2 separate regions of the Homo sapiens genome follow, and region 1 is linked to region 2. The links are contacts of gene promoters, found by promoter capture Hi-C in blood cells and fetal thymus (Javierre and others, 2016). All regions are on one chromosome and are shown on one strand. The core of a region is centred on a gene start or on the middle of the fragment in contact, and the rest is flanking DNA. Distances in the headings are between cores, read along the strand shown. Region 1 has its middle 3.6 kb from the start of TEX101. Region 2 holds the start of PHLDB3 (pleckstrin homology like domain family B member 3).

Region 1 (6,219 bases), core at 2,892-5,391, 92 kb before region 2:
TGGAGAGGCGGTGAGGGCCGCCCCCGCAGCGTCCTGTTTGGGAGCCAGGTCTTCTCCTCGTTCTGCCCGGGCTCGACCAGGGGCTAGATCGGGGTTCGGGGAGCGAACAAGGCACGTCGGAGGGTGGCCCGGTGGCCCCTATTCGAGGGGTGGCTGTGGGCCAGGAGGTAGCGGTGGCGGCGGCCTCGCCTGTGGCCATCTGAGCCGTGGGCCGGTAGGCGGGGAGGAGAAGAGGGTCCGGCCGGTCACCGCCCTTGCACGCCTCCTCCTCTTAAAAATAAATAAATAAATAAATGGCGAGTTGGGGGTGGACAGGGATGTTTTAGTGCTGTGCGTGCGTTCTGGAGCCACACCACCCTCTAGAACCAGGGCCACAACCACCCGTGACGCCCACCGTGAGAAGTGCCCTCTCCCAGAAGGGCCTGCACCAGAGACCTTGGTCTTTGTTCTTTTTGGAGAGATCTGTGCAGATCGAGGTCACTCCAGCCCTGGATTCAGGGAGGGCTGCACTATCAGAGAAAGACAGCTTCAGCGAGGCCTCACAGTGAGTCAGACCAGACTCTTCCCATCCCCAAGATCCCTGGACTATGGGGCATCATCCTGGGATCCCTAAGGTCACATGGGAAACTTCTCAAGCACCGATGCTGCCATCTGATACTGTGGCCTGATCCCACCCCTGGACACCTGGAAATTCTCATGAACCCGTGGAGGCCTGGTGCTACCTGAAACTGTGACCTCATTCTACTTCCAACTCACAAGTTGAAGCGTAGATTTACATGCAGTCAAATCAATAATTAGATTAATTGGCTGACTAAAGGAAAAACTTCAGACACGTTAAATTTAACACAGTTTAATTGAGTAATGAATGATGCATTAATCAGGTAGCCCCCAGACCCAGAGTAGGTTCAGAGAAACTTCAGGGTGTTCCGTCCATAAATGGTTGGATAACATCTACCGCAGAAGAAAGTGATGTAGAAGAAACTAAGGAAGGCACTGAAATAGCTGGACTGCTAACAGTTGGGTGCTTGCCTTATTTGAACCAGGTTTGAACAGTTAGTTGGGTACCTGTGATTGGCTGAGACTCAGCTATTTTTACTATAGCAGGTTACAGACTGTTTACACATCAAGTTAGGTTACAGTTCACTATGTATGGAGAAACCATTAGACCAAACTTAAAGTAGTAGGGAGGCAGCTTTAGACCTAACAATGTTAACAGGCCAAACATTTCAATTAAGGGGTACAGATTGGTCAAATTGCATAAAAAAGCAATACCCATATATACTGTCTACAAGGGAAATATTTTACATATAGGGAAAAGCATTATTGAAAGTGTGAGTATTGAAAAAGATATACCATGCAAACAGTAAGCACAAGAAAGTTGAAGTACTAGTAAAAAAAAAAAAAGAAAGAAAGAAAATAGAATTCAAAACAGAAGGTAAAAGAGACTGAAGCAGGAGAATTGCTTGAACCTGGGAGGCGAAGGTTGCAGTGAGCCAAGATTGCACCATTGCACTCCAGCTCTGGGTGACAGAGCAAGACTCCATCTCTGTGGAAAAAAAAGAAAAGGAGAAACAAATGTGAGTGTAAGCAAGGCGAGTGTTTCCTCTATGATTAGTAATTAGCAGTCTTCAAAAAGACATTCTGTGGCTTGGGGTTTAATAGTAAAATAATTAGCTGGCATGGTGACATGTTCCTGTACTCCCACCCAAGAGGCTGAAGTGGGAGGATTGTTTGAGCCCAGGAGTTTGAGGCTGCAGTGAGCTGTGATTGCACCACTGTACTCCAGCCTGGACAAGATTGAGAGAGATCCTGTCTCAAAAAAAAAATAAGTAAAACTGGTGGTTTAACCTCAAGGCTTACAACTCATTGTTTTGTAAGGTTTGCAGAAGATCTCAATCCTTTACAAGTAGGAAGGAAAAGCCTGTTGGTTTGAGAGGGAACTGGGTGTGTGCATAGGCCTGTTGGTAGGAGAACTGGAGCACTCAAAAAGGGAGCTGCACGATGCTTATGCCGGCTTCACTGAGGGCTGTGGGCATTGGAGGAATGGGCTTTGAAGGACAATTAGGAGTTTGTGGGGTAAACAAATGCATGGGGGAAGCGGATTAGGGAGAGGTCTCCCATGCAGAGGGACCAGTGTGAGCAAAGCCAAAGAGGCTGGAAGAGACTAGGGATGTCCTGGGAATAGATATTAGACAGGGAATGATAAGGGTGAGGCATGGGGGCTGGTCTCCAAGACCAGTGTGGGAGGTTGGAATTTTCCCCCAGGAATACAGGAAGCATGGAAAAAATTCTGAGGATGGAATACGGAGGGCCTGAGGTATGTGGTGGCTCACTGTTGTGTGTTTCTCATTTCTGGATCTAAGAGACATTCTTTAATCCAGCAAATGTTTACTTACCTACACTGTAATCATATGCTGAGTACACAGAGATGGATCAGACACAGCTGGAAGGAACCAGATACACACATGCCCATGCACACATGCACACTGACATGTACACCGAGACACACACATCAGACACACATTCACACACAGCACACAGATACACACAGACATACATATATACAGACATGTGCACACACAAACATGCATGCACTCACAGTCACACATGAACACACATAGCCAATTATACTATAAAGTACAAAAAAAAAATTTTTTTTTGAGACAGGGTCTTGCTCTGTCACCAGAGCAAAAGCTGGAGTACAGTGGCGTTATCTCGGCTCACTGCAACTGCAACCTCCACCTCCTGGGCTCCAGCGATCCTCCCACCTCAGCCTCCCAAAGTGTTGGGATTACAGGCATGAGCCATGGCACCCAGCCTAGAATCTTACTTGAGGTAAAATGAGAATCCACTGGAAGGTTTTGGTTTTTTTGAAACAGAGTCTTGCTCTGTCACCCAGGCTGCAGTGCAGTAGCACAATCTTGACTCACTGCAGCCTCCACCTCCCAGGTTCAAATGATTCTCTCGCTGCAGCATCCAGAGTAGCTGGGATTACAGGGGCGCACCACCACGCCCAGCTAATTTTTTCATTTTTAGTGGAGACAGGGTTTCACCATGTTGGCCAGGCTGGTCTCGAACTCCTGATCTCAGGTGATCCACCACCTCGGCCTCCCAAAGTGCTGGGATTACAGGCCTGAGCCACCGTGCCTGGCCCATTAGAAAGTTTTAAACAGGAGTAATGTGGTGTGGCTTGCAATTAAGAGATCGCTCTGGTGCCAGGTGGGAAATAGCCACATGGGCAAGGGCAGGGCGTACTGCAATAATCCAGTGACCAATGGTGGTGTCACAAGTGCTTATATAAAAAGATGCCTTCACTGTATATTAGCCATTGAGCTTTTTTCTTTTTTACAAACGTTCCATGGATTCATAAACTATTTGCCAACCATTGCTCTAGACTAACCTCCTCATTTTCTTTTTTTTCTTTTTTTTCTTTTTTTTTGAGACCAAGACCAAGTTTTGCTCTTGTTGCCCAGGCTGGAGTGCAATGGTGCAGTCTCAGCTCACTGCAACCTCCGCCTCCCAGGTTCAAGTGATTCTCCTGCCTCAGCCTCCCAAGTAGCTGGGATTACAGGCGCGTGCCACCAGGCCTGGCTAATTTTTGTATTTTTAGCAGAGACAGGGTTTCACCGTGTTGGTGAAGGTCAGGCTGGTCTCAAACTCCTGACCTCAGGTGAACCACCCACCTTGGCCTCCCAAAGTGCTGGGATTATGGGCTTGAGCCACTGCACCCAGCCTAACCTCTTCATTTTCTAGATGAGGACACTGAAGCTTGGAGAGGAACAGAAATTGGCTCAGGCTAAGGAAGATCTGTCAATCTCTCTTGCACCAAAAAGGCAAAGCCACCTTTCTCAAGGGGCTGTGTATTGGGGTGTTCTTGCACTGCTATAAAGAAATACCTGAGACTAGAAGTAATTTATAAGAAAAGAGGTTTGATTGGCTCAAGGTTCTGCAGCTGTACAGGAAGCGTGGTGCCAGCATCTCCTTCTGGGGAGGCCTCAGAGAGCTTTTACTTATGGCAAAAGGATGCAGGCCAGAGAAGGGGAGCGAGAGAGAGTAAGAAGGGGAGGTGCCACACACTTAAACAACCAGATCTGGCAAGGACTCACTCATCATTGCAAGGACAGCACCAAGTCATGAAGGATCTGCCCCCATAACCCAAACACCTTCCACCAGGTCGCATCTCCAACACTGGGAATTACATTTCAACATGAGATTTGGGCGGGGGACAAATATCCAAACTATGTCACGGAGCAAGAGGAGGTCCCTGGAGCTGTTGAAGCAGAAATGGGGTGAAGAATAGAGGTGGAGGGTGCTTAGGCTTCCAAGGTCTCTTCTAGGTGTGAGATGGAGGGATTCTGCGACCAAGTCACCTGGAGAGTGACTCAACAAGGTGACTGCTTTCCCAAGCACGAGCCCTCGGGGGACAGACGGGGGCTGAAAACTGGCACACATTCTTCCTGGATCCTTTGACATGTGATCATTCAAAGATAACAGTTCAAAGATAACAAAGGGATTGAAGCTTTACCAATCCCTTTCTTATTGTGGCATTTTCTCTATTAAAAATAAATACTCATTTATACTATAACTTACAGAATCAGTACCAATTCTGAAAGTATACAAAGCGTTGCCTTACTTTAAGGAAGGAGACCACTACTACTCCTGCTGCCCTCCTCCCCCGACCTTGCCTAGTTCACAAGACAGGAGGAAAGAGAGAAAGCAAAAAGTTGGAAAGAAACAGAAGTAAGATAAATAGCCAGTCAACCTTGGCACCACCACCCAGCCCTAGGAGTTAAAAAAAGTAATAATAATAACAGCAACCCCTGACCTAAACTACTTGTGTTATCTGTAAGTTCCAGACATTATATGAAAAAGCATTGCAAAACTTTCTGTTCTGTTACCTGATGCATGTAGCCCCCAGTCACGTTTCCCACGCTTGCTCGATTTATCACGACCCTTTCATGTGGACCCCTCGAAGTTGTAAGCCTTTAAAAAGGCCAAGAATTGGCCAGGCGTGGTGGCTCATGCCTGTAATCCCAGCACTTTGGGGGGCGGGCGGATCACGAGGTCAGGAGATCGAGACCATCCTGGCTAACACAGTGAAACCCCATCTCTACTAAAAATACAAAAAAATTAGCCGGGTGTGGTGGTGGGTGACTGTAGTCCCAGCTACTCGGGAGGCGGAGGCAGGAGAATGGCATGAAGTCGGGAGGCAGAGCTTGCAGTGAGCCGAGATTGCACCACTGCACTCCAGCCTGGGCAACAGAGGGAGACTCCAAAAAAAAAAAAAAAGGCCAAGAATTTATTTTTCAGGGAGCTCGGCTCTTAAGACGCAAGTCTGCTGAGGCTCCCGGCCAAATAAACCTCTTCCTTCTTTAATCCAGTATCTGAGGAGTTTTGTCTGCAGCTCATCCTGCTACAACTTCATGTCACACCTGGAAAGCTTACATAGGCCAGGGGTGGTGGCTCACGTCTGTAATCCCAGTACTCTGGGAGGCCGAGGTGGGCAGATCACCTGAGGTTAGGAGTTCAAGACCAGCCTGGTCAACACGGCGAAACCCCGTCTCTACTAAAAATACAAAAATTAGCCAGGTGTGGTGGCAGGTGCCTGTAATCCTAGCTGCTCAGGGGAGACTGAGGCATGAGAATCGCTTGAACCTGGGAGAGGGAGGTTGCAGTGAGCTGAGATCACGTCACTGCACTCCAGCCTGGGGGATAGAGAGAGGCTCTGTCTCCAAAAAAAAAATACAAAAAATTAGCCAGGCATGGTAGCTTATGCCTGTAATCCCAGCTACCTGGGAGGCTGTGGTAGGAGAATCACTTGAACCCAGGAGGAGGAGGTTGCAGGGAGCCAAGATTGTGCCATTGCACTCCAGCCTGGGCAAAAAGAGCAAAAGTCTGTCAAAAAGGGAAGGGAAGGGGAGGGGAAGGGAGGGGAGGGGAGGGAAGGGAAGGTTACATAGATGTGAAAGTGAACTGCCAGCCATGAGCAACAAATCCGAGTGACATGTCTTCTTCATGGTCCTGACACGGACGCGTGGGTTCGATCTGACAGCAGCCTGTGCCATCATAGCTACTGCTCATGCATGCATTCGGGGTGCCCAAAGTGATGCTGAGGGGGGCATTCCTAGATTCAACCCTCCAGGAGACCATGAGGAGGCTGGTGCGATAGCGCAATCAGATGAAGACGCCTGGGCTGCACAGGGGCCACTGCAAGTGAAG
Region 2 (6,567 bases), core at 3,269-5,768:
AAACTGTGTCTCGCAAAAAAAAAGAGACTAGGGTGATCTTATTAGGTCGGGACAACCAGAGATGAGGTTCCCAACACTGGCTCAGGAAGCACTAAAGCACTTCTGAATACGATCAAACCTCTCCCTCTAACCAACACCCACTTGCAGAAACAGAGGCATGTTCAAGGGCACCACAGGCATGCGATCAGCCATGCTCTGCCTATAGGACAGAAGACTGGATTTTTCCAATAAACAGTATGGGGAAGACACAGCGGGTAGGAACCACCAGAGATAAAACAATGGGCAAGACGTATCAGCCAATCACACTGAACTTTGGGGACTTCATTCAAACAAGCCACCTGTTAACTGGCATTTTGAGACTGTCTGGGAAACACAAAAACTAACCAGAAATAAGACAATACTAAGAACTTATTAATTTTTTATTTTTGAGACAGGGTCTTGCTCTATCGCCCAGGTTGGAGTGCAATGTTATAATCACAGCTCACTGCAGCCTCTACCTTCTGGGCTCAATTGATCCTCCCACCTCACTCTTCTGAGTCTGAGGCCACAGGCACATGCCACCATGCCTGGTTAATTTTTGTATTTTTATTTTTCACAGAAACGGTGTCTTATTATAATATTGCCAGGCTGGTCTCATAGTCTTGGCCTCAAGCGATCCTCCCACTTTGCCCCGCCCCCCGTACCCCCCCCCCACCCCGCAAGTACTGGGATTACAGGTGTGAGCCACTTGGCCCAGCCTAAAAGGATTTCTTATCTGTCAATGATACACTCTAAACATATGTACAGACCATATGATGTCTGGGATTGGCTTTTAAAACTGGGGACGAGAACAAATTGGAGATAATGAAACAAGAATGTAAGAATATTAATCATTGATGAAGCTGGTGGGCACAGGACATGGGAGCTGCCTGACTATTGTGGGGTGGGTTTGGAAGTTTTCTTTTTCTCTTTTTTTTTTTTTTTTTTTTTTGAGACGGAGTCTCCTTCTTGTCACGCAGGCTGCTGGAGTGCAATGGTGCGATCTTGGCTCACTGCAACCTCCATCTCCCGGATTCAAGCGATTCTCCTGCCTCAGCCTCCCAAGTAGCTGGGACTACAGGCGCCCGCCACCACGCCCTGCTAATTTTTGTATTTTTAAGCAGAGACGGGGTTTCGCCATGTTGCCCAGGCTGGTCTCAAACTCCTGAGCTCAGGCAATCCGCCCGCCTCGGCCTCCCAAAGTGCTATGATTACAGGCGTGAGCCACTGCTTCCGGCCAGTTTGGAAGTTTTTACACACCCACATTTAAATAGCAAACGGACAGGGGACAAAGGAAGAGCCCCAAAAATCTCGCCCAGGGAGGGAGAAGGAAAACCAGGAGGGGCATCTGCCCCTCACTCTCTCAGGAGCCCAAATGTCTTCCTTTGGGGAATGGGGACAACCCCGGGGCGCAGGTGGCTAGGAGCACACCAACATCCATGGACCAGGAAGGACACTGCTGATGAAGACCCGGTGAGCCAAACAGACCTGTTCCCGCTGCTGGCGGCCGCGCTGCTCCGAGGCCGCCTGCTGCTCCAGCAGCTCCCGCAGCTGCTCCTCCTCCCGGCGAGCGGCCACTCGCTCCCCAGCCAGCTCACCCCGCAGCAAGGCCACCTCCACCTCCATCTGCGGAGAGAATGCCAGGGCTGGGGGCTCGGACGCCTAGGTCCAAGGAAGAGGCCCAGGGCCTGAACTACCGGATTCGAAGGGAGGATGGACTCCAGGGACCTGAATTTGGAGGGAGGAAGAGCGGAGGGCCTAAAATCTGATCCCACCCGAGGAAAAAGCTGGGAGTCCGGCTTTGCGGGTTCCGCTTGAGTTGGGGCCAGGCTTCCCAAGGGGTCCGCAGCCTCACCTCGATCCTCAGCTCCTTCCTCTGGCGCTGTAGCTCCTTCACTCGCTGCTCCATCAGGGCCACACGAGTCAATGCCTCCAGCTGCTGTCCTTGCAGGCGCCGCGCCGCCCCTCGCACCCCTTCCCGCGAAGAGGTGGATGCGGGAGGTGTGGCCGCCATAGCTATCGGAGGCGTAGCCTCGGGCTGAAGTTGAGGGGGGCGTGGTTAAGTGGAGATGCCTCGCCCCCTGCAATCACTAAGTAGGTCTGGTCCCCACCCAACATCACCCTCTGCGGGTCTCAGTCCATCAGTCCACTTACCTAACACAACCACCACTCCCATAATCTGTCGCAGGCTCTTTTCTTTTTCTTTCTTATCTTTTTTTTTTTTTTGTCCTGAGATAGGGTCTCACTGGCTGGAGTGCAGTGGCGCGATTACGGCTCACTGCAGCATCGACCTCCCTCGCTCAAGCGATTCTTCTGCCTCATCCTCCTAGGTAGCTGTGACTACAGGCGCGCACCGCCACGCCAAGCTCTTTTTTTTTTTTTTTTTTTTTGGCAGAGAGGGGGCGATGCTATGTTGCCCAGGCTGGTCTCAAACTCCTAGGCTCAAGGGATTCTCCCACCTCGGCCTCCCAAAGTGCTACGATTACAGGCATAAGCCACCGCGCCCGGCCTCAGACCCCTGTATTTAAGGTCGGAGTGGGGGAGGGTGCAAGTCCCGTGACCACCCAACCACACGGACCACAGAGGCTTGCAGTACCGTATGGAGGGTGAGCAGGTGTAAAGCCGACTTATGAAAGGTGTTTCTTTTTCTCTATCAGGTCCTATTCTCTTGGCGTCACTTTCTTGTAGTGCCTGGATCTGTCTCTGTCTCTCCACCTGACCCCAGTCTCTCAGATTCGGTATCTGTCCACTAGATCTGTCCACTAGAATCACTAGATCTTTCTTCCTCGGAGTATGTCCCTCTCTCGAGGTTTTTGTCTATTTGTTTCTCTGAGCATCTCTGCCATTTATTTCTGGGTTTCCCTCTGTCTCGATTCCCCTCTCTCTGACTCTAGTCTCACTGTGTCTCTGTCTTTTTGGGGTCTTTGTCTCTCAGTCTCCATGTCTCTGGGTCTCTGTCTGGCTTCTTGATCTCTCTGCATCTCTTACTCGTTTGGTTCTCTCTGTTCTGTAGTCTCTCCTGTCTGTCTATCTGGTCTCTCTCTCTCTCTCTCTCTCTCTCTCTCTCTCTCATTTTTAGAGATAGGTTCTGCTTTGTCCCAGGCTGGGGTGCAGTGGCGCAGTCATAGTTCACCGCAGCCTACAACTCCTGGGCTCAAGCGATCCTCCTGCCTCAGCCTCCCGAGTAGCTGGGATTACAGGCACGCGGCACTGCGCTTGGACAATTTTTGTATTTTTTTTTTCTCTAGAGACAGGGATTTGCTATGTTGCCCAGACTTGTCTCGAACTCCTGGGCTTAAGCAATCCTCCCCTCGGCCTCCCCAAGTGCTGGGATTACAGGCGTGAGCCACCTATCTGGTTCCTCTATACTAGTCTCTCTGTCTCTGTCGCCCGTTTGGGTCTATCTCCGTTCTTGGGGCCTCCCCGTGGCTCTATCTGGTTTCTGTCTCTGTATCTGGTTTCTGTCTGTCTGTGCCTCTGCCTCTCTGGCTCCGTGTCCTGGTGTATCTCTCTCTCAGTAGTCTCTGCTATCACTCGGTCTCTCTCCCTGTCTCCGGGTCTCTGTCTTTCTGGTTTCCCTCTACCTGTCTACCTGTCTGGCCACCTGTTTGGGTCCCCGTCGGTCCAAGCCCCCCGCGCTGTCGCCCTCGGGCCCCTCACCGCGTCGCGGCTGCTCTCAGTGCTGCTGCCTTCTCCCACTTCTTCTTCCTCTGCCTGCTGCTCAGCTCCCCCGCGGCTCGAAGGTTCCGCCAGGACTTCGGATGCCTCCTGTTCCCGGGACTCCTCGGGATGGCCCTGGGGCTGGACCTCCACGTCGCATTCCGGGACCAGCGGCGGCGGGGTCCCCTCCTCGGGGCTGCTTCGCGTCCCCATGGCCGCTGGGACTCCTGCGGGGTGGGCGGGACCAGAAGCTCCGGGGGCGGGGCCTAGGACGGCTGAGCGCCGCTCGCGTCTGCTCCGGGGCGCGGAGACCCCCCCCCAAGGAGGCGGGGCCTAAGAGTTCAAAGGATGGAACTGAGCGTTACGGAGGCGTGTCCTGAAGTTTCCAGAGGCGGGGCTTGATGGCTCCAAGGCGACACGCCACCGGAGACGGGACCGGAATTTGAGTCCGGGTCGTAGCACGCCCCCTACTGACCTCTTCGACCCCGCCTCCCCTCCCTCATCTCTAGGTGTCAGGCCTTGTACCCTCCCAGCAGCCCCCTACAATCTCTTGGATTCGCTTAGAGCGACCCATCTTCTCCCTCCGAGACTCAGCAGTTCGGCTCCCGCCCCATCCTTCCCGGAGCCCCGTAGTCTTAGTCCCGACCCCACTGTGCAGGGCAACCGTGCCCACGCCGCCTCACCCAGGGATCCAGGAGTCGGGGCTCTCCTTCTCTGAACAAGCCAGGAGTCGGAGTCCTTGAGATTCCGAAGTCCAACTGCCACCTCCCCACAGCCTCGGCCCCCTCACGAGCTCAGGCTTCGGCGCGCTCCGCTCTGCGCGCTGGGCACGGCCGCTTCTGCCTATGAGACAGGTGGCAGGGGAAGAGGGAGGAGAGAGGCCGCCCGGTCCCCCTCCCCAGCAGCCCGGAAGTGGAGGGGGGACAACAGGTCCAACAGCTCCCGAGGGAGGAGGGAGCCACGGGCTTGCCCCACCCGTGGCCTCGGCATCCGGCCATCCCGGCCCCACCGGCCCCGGCCCGGCCCCACCCTCGTGGAACTCAGCATCGCGACCTCCCAGTCTCCCTCGAGCCCCTCATTCCTGCCCCCCTGGAGGAGTCTTGGCCACCTCTGTATGGGAGCCTCTCTAATGTCCAGACCTTGGGAGTTCAGAAAGGAAGGCAGGAATGGAGATGGGGACGTCTCCCCTCTAATGAGCCCTTCAGAAGGGCCCTGACCGGTTTGGGGAGCTGGACAAGGGGAAGGGGTGCCCTGAACTGAGTCAGACACCTGCCCAGAGACTGAGGGAAGTGTACCGCCACCCCCCCACAACTTTGCTATGGGGTGGAGGGCAGAGGTTAAAGGTCTCAGCCAGACCCTTTCCTCTCTGGGCGAAAACAGGAAAATGAAAACAGGAAAATAACTGGTATATGAAAAGGGATGATTAGAAGTCAAGAGCTGTGTGAAACACTTTATACCCAGTCATTTAATTTCACCCTCAAAGCTGTCCAGCGAGAAAGTGATTACTACCTCCATTTCTTTTTTTTTAGTAGAGACTGGGTTTCTCCAGGTTGCCCAGGCTGATCTTGAACTCCTGGGCTCAAACAACCTGCCTGCCTCAGCCTCCCAAAGTGTTGAGATTACAGGCGTGAGCCACCGCTCCTGGCCTACTATCTCCATTTTACACTTGGGGATACAAGCTGAGGAGGACAAATGCACCCAAGGTTGGCTGGGCACAGAGGCTCAGGCCTGTAATCCCAGCACTTTGGGAAGCCGAGGCAGGTGGATTGCTTGAGATCAGGAGTTCAAGGCCAGCCTGGGCAACATGGAGAAACCCCATCTCTACTAAAAATACAAAAATTATGCCAGGCGTGGTGGCACACACCTGTCATCTCAGCTACTCCAGAGGCTGAGGCAGGAGGATATCTCGAGCCCAGGAGGTCGAGGCTGCAGTGAGTCTTGAATGTGCCACTGCACTCCAGCCTGGGCGACAGAGTAAGACCCCATCTCAGAAAAAAAAAAAAAAATGTAGCCAACATCTACACATGTTGTAAGTGGTAAAATGCAGGCTTCATTCTCTCAAAAGTCCATGTTCTTAACCATTGCGTATACTGTCACTACAAGCCAGGAAGTACCCAAAAGATCATTCTAAATGATAGTAACTTTAATGGTGAACACTGATAGGCCATGTGCCAGGCACTCACACACATTGACTCATCAGAGCATCACAACACCCCATTATTATTCCTTCCATTTTAGAGATAAGAAAACTGAGGCCTAGAGAAGTGAAGTAACTTACCCCAGGGCTAAGTGGGAAGTGGCTCAAAAGCAAGCCGGTGTTCTAATCCAAGGTGATGAGAAGACCTGCCCCAGATAGCTGTGTTTGTTTTTGATCTTGTGAGTTAGAAATCTTGTGGGCTCCCGGGCTGGGCGCGGTGGCTCACACCTGTAATCCCAGCACTTTGGGAGGCCGAGGCTGGTGGATCACGAGGTCAGGAGATCAAGATCATATTGGCTAACATGGTCAAACCCTGTCTCTACTAAAAATATGAAAAAATTAGCCGGGCATGGTGGCACGCGCCTGTAGTCCCAGCTACTTGGGAAGCTGATGCAGGAGAATCGCTTGAACCCGGGAGGCAGAGGTTGCAGTGAGCCGAGATCGTGCCACTGCACTCCAGCCTGGGCAATGGAGGGAGACTCCATCTCAAAAAAAAAAAGAAAAGAAAAAGAAAACAAATCTTGCAGGCTCCCTGGCCTCTCCATAGGACCAGAACCCCACCCCTTTCGGCCCAGAAACCCAATTGGTTCCCCCAGAAAATAGGTAGAAGTCAGACTCACGTTAAAAAAAGTTTTATTTAGGGAGCTCCAGGGAATGCGGTGGGAAAGGAGAGGTGCAGTGTCATTGCCGCC

The links. The method cuts DNA at HindIII sites, captures the fragments that hold promoters and counts their contacts. A CHiCAGO score of 5 or more calls a contact.
Region 1: a contact is called between a fragment that was not itself captured here and the fragment with the promoter of PHLDB3 in region 2, in 2 of 17 cell types (non-activated CD4 T cells and total CD4 T cells). The highest score is 5.6, in non-activated CD4 T cells.

What each region holds. Positions count from the first base shown.
Region 1 is chr19:43,408,223-43,414,441 of GRCh38, forward strand. It overlaps a transcript of TEX101 not described here. Among named protein-coding and RNA genes, the nearest start is that of TEX101, 3.6 kb to the right of the region's middle. RefSeq lists a silencer at 4,869-5,055. The HindIII fragment of the contact is 751 bases long and covers 3,767-4,517 here.
Region 2 is chr19:43,500,228-43,506,794 of GRCh38, forward strand. PHLDB3 (pleckstrin homology like domain family B member 3) reads right to left here and starts at 4,519. Exons shown (of 16, transcript NM_198850.4): 1 at 4,362-4,519; 2 at 3,679-3,905; 3 at 1,874-2,056; 4 at 1,507-1,644. The coding sequence starts at 3,891. It overlaps ETHE1 (ETHE1 persulfide dioxygenase), which reads right to left. Exons shown (of 7, transcript NM_014297.5): 7 at 6,492-6,567. RefSeq lists an enhancer at 3,655-4,177 and silencers at 3,806-4,055, 4,656-4,715. The HindIII fragment of the contact is 22,316 bases long and covers 1-6,567 here.